Linked DNA regions of Homo sapiens: all the other regions are linked to region 1. The links are contacts of gene promoters, found by promoter capture Hi-C in human tissues and cell types (Jung and others, 2019). All regions are on one chromosome and are shown on one strand. Each heading gives the region's core, a stretch centred on a gene start or on the middle of the fragment in contact. The rest is flanking DNA. Distances are from core to core; before and after follow the strand shown. Region 1 holds the start of KLRC1 (killer cell lectin like receptor C1). Region 2 overlaps KLRC4-KLRK1 (KLRC4-KLRK1 readthrough). Region 3 has its middle 12 kb from the start of EIF2S3B.

Region 1 (2,633 bases), core at 87-2,586:
AGCAATTTCCTGTGATTAACTCAGGTCACAGTTGAGAGGAGTTTGAGTGGAGATTCAGGGCCATTTTAGTATCTTCTGTAGGACAGAGGTCAGCAAGCATGCCCCAGAGGTACAGATGTATATGTCTCCCAGGAAGTCTCTGTGGGTGAAGGACTGATCTCAAGTTGTGGCTGACACTAGTTAAAGCCAAGTTAGAGGGCTGTTTCAGGGTCTACATTGAGACTACAGTTGATATGCCTACCTCCTGAGACACTAGTGTGTGAGTCTCCTCCTGGGCCCCTGGGCAAATGGTTTTGGCAGCATGACCAAGGCCTAAATGGGGCTGAAGGCAAGCACAGGAGGATGGGTCCCTTTTCAGGTCTGGAGATGGAATCACTGTTGGTAAGTCTGCCACTTGGATGCAAATCTATTCCCTAAAACAACCTTCCTAGGTCTTGGGTTCCACTGGCATTTTACAAACTCCTACTTGAATTCCAAACTCCCTCAAAGGAACTTTTGTCTGTGGATGGCTGAAAAATTATTGTTGCTGTGGGGGCATATGTGTGGGGGACCACCTATTCTGCCAATTTACTGACTTTCCTCCTAGTAAGATTTTAAAATTACTTTTTCCCCATACATAGTTTGACTTCAGTTTTTGTCATTTACAACTAAATATTTCTATGAAAGTCGACATAATTTGTTATGGCGGAGGATGAATAAATGAAGAATGTAATGAATAGCTATTTAATATTTCAATTTCTGGTATGCTAATATATTTCAAAATTGATTAATATTTTACCTATCCAAGATATTTTTATCAAGGGTAATCTGAAGATTAAATAATCTATTTTTAAAAATTAAGTGCAAAAATTTAAGAACTAAGAGAAGTTAATAATATAACTTTGGCAATGATGCTTTTTGTGCCAGCTACAATCAATTGAGTAATTACTGCAGTAATTTTTCAGAATAATTAAGGAAAAAATCAGTAGATATCAGTTGATAATATTACTATGAGTTTTAGAATGTTTTCTATTATAATGGAAGTGACATAATAAAATAATATAAAGAAAAGAAGTATGCAATGTTAAGATTTAGCAACCTAGTCTAAAAGGCACTCTTAACAAGGTGAGGGTTGACAATGTTCGTGATCAAGACAGAAAAAAAAAAAATTCTCATAGGCACTTGAAAAATGAACCAACTAAATGACACACTTTCAAAGTCAACCTTGTACTTTTAATAGACCAAGTATCCTATATTTTGGAGGTGTGTGATGAGATAAAACTGATTTCACAATAGCCCATGTGTAGAATTTCCTGTTCAAACCTTAGTAACACGTTGATGAGAAATCTACTTTTTCCACTCTTGACTCACTCTGAGCCTTCACAGGGCAGTCTGCGAAGATTGCAGGCATTGTTTGTTCTTGTCTTGGATTTATGCCTTTAAATTTCACCTTTTATTACACAGCTATAGCAGGCCTTTTTATGAGACTAACCTGGCCTCTCCACTAAAGGATGTGTGACTTTCTGGGGACAGAAGGTATGTATTGCTACTCTCCAACTCTCTACTAGCCTACCTCATTTAGTGGGTGATTTCAAGTGCTCAATATGATACAAAGGAGGTATAATTAATATACAATAAAATCAAAGTAGAATATTGCTGTCTTCATTTGAATAACTCAGGGTAAAAACCTAAAATATGAAATATGTTGAAGGATTTCTTAAAGTTTTCAAATTATTGTTTGTGGAAATCTAGTGGGTTTGTTGATCAATATCGTTTAAGGGAAAGCTATTAACATCACAATAATGAACAATTAATTTTGTATTTTGTAATCAGTACATCATGTATCTTTGAATAATAATTTATATTTAGCTTAGCCATTAAAGATTATTAAAATAAATCAATCAATTGATGAAAGCCAAATACAATTCCTCAGACACGTAGATTAGAGAAAAGCAGTTTTTATTTTTAATAAAAATCAGAATGAGGTAGATTACATAAAATGCTAAAGGTATTACAAAGCAATAAAAATACTTTTTAAAAATTGATCAAAATATTGCAAAAAAAGATGTAGCGCATGGACATAGGAGACTTATCTGAAGATTTATTTTCCATGCTTTAACTGACATGAATCAGAAACAGTAACATAACAATTGTGACTAAAATAATAATTAAAGTAGCTAATGCTTATTGAGAACTTTAAGTGCCAGGTTGAGTGGTAAATGTTTTACATGCAACGTTTTATATGTTCTTATGCCCATTTTAGATTAACAAACTGGGTTATTAAAAATAGAATAACTTTTTAAAGGTCGCACATTATAAGTGTCAAAGCTAGAATTAATTCTAGATCTCACTGACTCCAGAGCCCATTGACTAAATGATTTAATTACATTATCTGAAATTTTACAAGTACTTATACAACTAAAGTGGCCTTTACTCACTTTGACAACCATAAAATCATTCTATAAGTTTAAATGAAATGTGCTTTAACATGAATTACCTATACTTTTATTTATCATTTTTTGGTTCATAATTTAGCCAGGAAATAAATTACCAATTACTAATTAAATTACCAATACTTCTGTAAGTATTAACAATTTATGTAGTGTTCCTAATACTATTTAGGTTATGCATAAGTTAACTGTGTCACATAGCAT
Region 2 (2,633 bases), core at 51-2,550, 53 kb after region 1:
ATTATTGAAAGACCATAGCTTATGTTAAGTTTCACTCAGTGTTTTACACTTTATGGGTCTGGCCAAATATATAATGATAATGACATGTCTTTATCATCATAGATCATACAGAATAATTGCATTGCCCTGAAAATCTTCTGTGCTCTGCCCATTCATCCTTTCCTCCTTCAAACACATGGCAAGCATCGATTTTTGTACTGTCTCCATAGTTGTTTACTTTTCCAGAATGTCATATAGTTGAACTCATACAGTATGTTACATCTGAGCCATTACATCTTAACCATATCATATATCTCAACCATTTTTAAGTGAACAGGTCAGTAGTGTTAACTATATTCACATTTTACAACAGATTTCTAGAATTTGTTCATTTTGCAAAACTGAAACTCTATACACATTGGACAACTCCCCTTTTTGCCCCTAGCAATCAGCATTCTACTTTCTGTTTCTATGAGTTTGAATACTTTAGATATCTCATATAAATAAAGCAGGCAGCATTTTTTTTGTGTGACTGGCTTATTTAACTTAGCATAATGTCCTTAAGATTTATCCATGTTGCAGCATGCAACAAGACTTCCTTTTTTAAAATAAAGTATATTATCCTTTTTAAAAATGTTTAAACAACTTTATTGAAGTATGATTGACATACAAAAAGCTGTACATATTTAATGCATACAACTTGATAAGATTAGAGATAAGTGTATAACCATGAAACCACCACAATCTGTGTCATAAACATATCTGTAATCTCCAGAAGTTTCCTTCCACCTTCTTTATTATTATTTTTTGTGATACAAACACTTAAGATCTACGCTCTTAGCCAAATCTTTAGTATACAACATTATTAACTACAGGTTCTGTGTAGTAAAACAGATATCTAGACCTTGTTCATCTCGTATAACTGAAAGTTTGTACCCTTTGACTAATACTCTCCTGTTTTTCCCTCTCCCAGCCCCTGACAACCACCCTTCTACTCCCTGCTTCTATGAATTTACTATTATTTTACTCAGCATAATGTCCTTCAGGTTTATCCATGTTGTTGCAATAGCTTTTTCTTCTTTTTAATGGCAGAATTGTATTCCATTTTATACACATGCCACATTTTCTTTATCCACCAATTCATCAATGGGCTTGTATGTTGCTTCTATGTTTTAACTGTTGCAATGAACATGGGAGTGCCGATACCTGTTCAAGTTCCTGATCTCAACTCCTTTGGCTCTACAGAAGTAAGATTGTTGGTTCATATGTCAACTCAATTTTAAATTTTTTGAGGAACCTCCATAATGTTTTCCATAGTGACTGTACCATTTTACATTTTCATTAACAGTGCACAAGGGCCCAAATTTCTTCACAACCTAAGCAATAATTGTTATTTTCTGCTTTTTTCATAGCGGCCATGCTAATGGGTATGAAGTGATATTTAACAGTGGTTTTGATTTATGTTTTTCTGATGATAGTAATGTTGAGCATCTTTTCATATGCTTATTGGACATTTGTATATCTTCTTTGGAGAAATATCTATTTGAATCCTTTGTCCATTTTTAAATAGGGTTATTAGGGTTTTTGTCATTGGATTACATAAGTTCTTAATATATTCTGGATATTAATCCCTTATTAGATACATGATTTTGTTGCTTCAATCATTTGCTCTGCAGACATTTTTAAGTCTGATGTAATCCCATTTGCCTATTTTTTGCTTTTGTTGGCTGTGATTTGGGTGTTTTATCAAGAAATGATTGCTAAATCCAATTTCATGAAGCTTTCCTCACATGTTTTCTTCTAGAAGTTTTACAGTTTTGGATCTTATCATTAAGTCTTCAATACATTATGAGTTAATATTTGTAGATGGTGTAATGTAAGGCTTTGATTTCACTCTTTTGCATATGTTTAGCCAGTTTTCTCAACACTATTTCTGGAAGATACTGCCCTTTTCCCATTGAATGGTCTTGGCACTCTTATTGAAAATCACTAGTCCATATGTACCGACGTTTATTTCTGGATGTATTAAGTTGTTGTTTCTATGGGGAGCAAGTGCTGGGGTATGCTATTCCTCTATCTTGTTGATGTTGCCTCCTTCCAATCTAGAATAGTATTCAGGGCAAATGTGGGTTCTCTGGAAGGTAATGTGGTCAAAATACTCCTGCTGGTGGGGGATACCTCAACCATTCCCTGGCATTCACACAGACTCAAGTCATCTCATAATCCGTCCTACCTGTTCCACAAGATTATCTCAGGGTCTTTGTCTTAAAATCCTCTTCAATCATTTGATTATGATGTTTTGAGATGGGGATTTCTACATGCTGATTCTATTAGTCATTAGTTTGCTTAGCATCTTGGATGTATACATTTTTAAAAAAGCAAATTTGAAAAGTTTTTAAGTCAGTTTTGTCTTAATATTATTTTTCTACATCTTTCTGTATTCTCTTTTTCTCTGGGATGAATAATTTCTATTAATATATCCCAAAGTTGATGAATTCTTCCTTTTGAATCTCAATTTTTTTTCTAGCCAATTTAGTGAATTTTTCGTTTCAAGTAATGTACTTCTCAACTCAGAATTTGGTTTATTTCTTGGTTTTCATTTCTCTGACAAAATTTCCTACTTGTTTTCTCATTGCCATCATATTTTCATTTAA
Region 3 (2,633 bases), core at 101-2,600, 40 kb before region 1:
GAAGACTGTCCTGTCCTGCTAGGTTGGGGAAGTTCTCCTGGATAATATCCTGAAGTGTGTTCTCCAGCTTGTTTCCATTCTCCCCGTCTCCTTCTGGTACTCCAATCAATCGTAGGTTTAGTCTTTTTACCTAGTCCCATTTTTCTTGGAGGCTTTGTTTTTTTTCATTCTTATTTCTTTAATCTTGTCTGCATGCCTTATTTCAGCAAGGTGGTCTTTAAACTCTGATATCCTTTCTTCTGCTTGGTCAATTTGGGTGTTGATACTTGTGTATGCTTCACGAAGTTTTTGTGCTGTGTTTTTCTGTTCCGTAAGGTCATGCGTGTTCCTCTCTAAACTGGTTATTCTAGTTAGCAGCTCCTCTAACCTTTTATCAAGGTTCTTGGCTTCTTTGCATTTAGTTATAACATGCTCCTTTAGCTCAGCAGAGTTTTTTATTACCCATCTTCTGAAACCTACTTCTGTCAATTCGTCCATTTCATCCTCTATCCGGTTATGTGCCCTTGCTAGAGAAGCACTGCCATCATTTGGAGGAGAAGAGGCACTCTGGCATTTTTGGTTTTCAGCGTTGTTTTGTTGATTTTTTTCTCATCTTCACGAGTTTATCCAGTTTTGATCTTTGAAGCTGCTGACCCTTGGATGGGGTTTTTGTGGGGATTTTTGTTGTTGTTGTTGATTCTATTGTTGTTGCTTTCTGTTTGTTTGCTTTTCTTTCAATGGTCAGCTCCCTCTTCTGTAGGGTTGCTGCATTTTGCTGGGGGTTCACTTCAGGCCTGTTCAACTGGTTCACTCCCTCGCCTGGAGATGTCACTCAAGGTGGCTGGAGAACAGCAAAGATGAGTGCCTGCTCCTTCCTGTGGGATCTCTGACCTCAAGAGACACCAACCTGACACCAGTAGGATCACTCCTGTATAGGGTGTCTGACAACCCCTGCTGGAGGGTCTCACCCAGTTGCGTGGCACAGGGAACAGGACCCATTTAACGAAGCACTCTGACAGTCCCTTAGTGGAGGGATGTGCTTCGCTGAGAGGAAACCCACTCATCTGGACTGCCTCGTTTCCTCAGAACTACCAGGAGGAAAGGTAGGTACAGTATTCCTGGTTAGCATTTTTTCCCAGCACTTTGAATATCTTATCCCACTTAATTCTGGTGTGCTATGTTCCTGCTAATAAATCTGCCGATAATCTTATGGAAACTTTCTTATACATGATTAGTTGCTTTTCCTTTGCTGTTTTCAAGATTCTTTGTCTTTGACTTTTGACAGGGTATAATGAGTCTCAGTGTCAATGTTTATTGTTCATCCTAGCTGGAGTCCTTTGTGTTTCTACAGTTTAATGTCCAATTACGTGGATTTAGGAAGTTTTCTCATATTATTCTTTGAATAAGCTCTCTGGAAAAGTTTGTTTTAAAACATCAAGAGAGGCCGGGCGCGGTGGCTCACGCTTGTAATCCCAGCACTTTGGGAGGCTGAGGCAGGTGGATCACGAGATCAGGAGATGGAGACCATCCTGGTTAACACGGTGAAACCCCGTCTCTACTAAAAATACAAAAAATTAGCTGGGCGTGGTGGCGGGCGCCTGTAGTCCCAGCTACTGGGGAGGCTGAGGCAGGAGAATGGTGTGAACCCGGGAGGCGGAGCTTGCAGTGAGCCGAGATCGCGCCACTGCACTCCAGCCTGGACGACAGAGCGAGACTCCGCCTCAAAACAAACAAACAAACAAACAAACAAAAAATCAAGAGAACTGTGTTCTTTAAAGATTTGGAAGAGTTAACCAGTAAAATCATTTGAACCTACTGTTTCCTTTGTTGCAAAATAATTAACAAAAATTTAACTTTAATTGATGCAGTTCAATGTAGGGCTTCTAATTCCTGTATAGGCATCTTTAGTTGTATTTTTCAAGGAATCGATTTTAATCTAAGTCAATACATTTATTGGCATTTGTTCATAAGTCACTCATTCTCCATTTAATATCTGTAAGATTTTTGCAAATGTTCCCCACACCTTTTCATTCAGATAATGATAATTTTTGTCTTGTCTCTTTTTTTCTGTTAACTCTAGTTATTTCAAACTTACTGATCTATTCAAAGACTGGCTTTCACAGTAATCAATTTTATCTATTAAGTTCTTATTTCATACTTTTCTGCTGTATTATTATTTCTTTCCTTTTGCTCATTTGGGGTTAACTTATTTTTCACTTGGTAGTACGTTAGGGTAAAGCTTAAGTCAATTATTTGAGACCCTTTATTTTTTACTTAATGAAATAATTATCTTTCTACTCACTATTAACACATCTCCCAAATTTTGATAGGTGTTTAATTTTTATTTATTAAAATATTTTGTAATTTTATGTCTCATGGATTTATGTAGAGGCATGCTTTTAATTTTCTAAATATTAGTGGATTTTCTAGTGTCATCTTGCTAACAATTTCTAATTTATTTTTATTGTATGAGAGAACATACTGTGCATAATTTCTATCCTCCAAGACTTATTGAGTCTGGTTTTATGTCCAGTGTATGAACGAACTTGGTGAATGTTTCGTATGCAGTTATGAAGAATCTTCATTCTGCTGCTGTTAGTGGTAGTGTTTGCTCTAAACATGCAAACAAAGTTAAGCTGGTTGATATTGTTAAT

What was found. Contacts are between HindIII fragments. The study calls those that stand out against the background at their distance.
Region 2: a fragment that was not itself captured here is called in contact with the fragment with the promoter of KLRC1 in region 1 in 2 of the 25 tissues and cell types used here (liver and mesendoderm cells).
Region 3: a fragment that was not itself captured here is called in contact with the fragment with the promoter of KLRC1 in region 1 in 2 of the 25 tissues and cell types used here (heart left ventricle and neural progenitor cells).

The regions. Positions count from the first base shown.
Region 1 is chr12:10,452,080-10,454,712 of GRCh38, reverse strand. KLRC1 (killer cell lectin like receptor C1) reads left to right here and starts at 1,336. Exons shown (of 7, transcript NM_002259.5): 1 at 1,336-1,515. The HindIII fragment of the contact is 6,428 bases long and covers 1-2,633 here.
Region 2 is chr12:10,398,847-10,401,479 of GRCh38, reverse strand. The region is part of intron 4 of KLRC4-KLRK1 (KLRC4-KLRK1 readthrough); the gene reads left to right. Among named protein-coding and RNA genes, the nearest start is that of KLRC4, 9.6 kb to the left of the region's middle. The HindIII fragment of the contact is 6,575 bases long and covers 1-2,633 here.
Region 3 is chr12:10,492,245-10,494,877 of GRCh38, reverse strand. No RefSeq gene overlaps it. Among named protein-coding and RNA genes, the nearest start is that of EIF2S3B, 12 kb to the left of the region's middle. The HindIII fragment of the contact is 6,447 bases long and covers 1-2,633 here.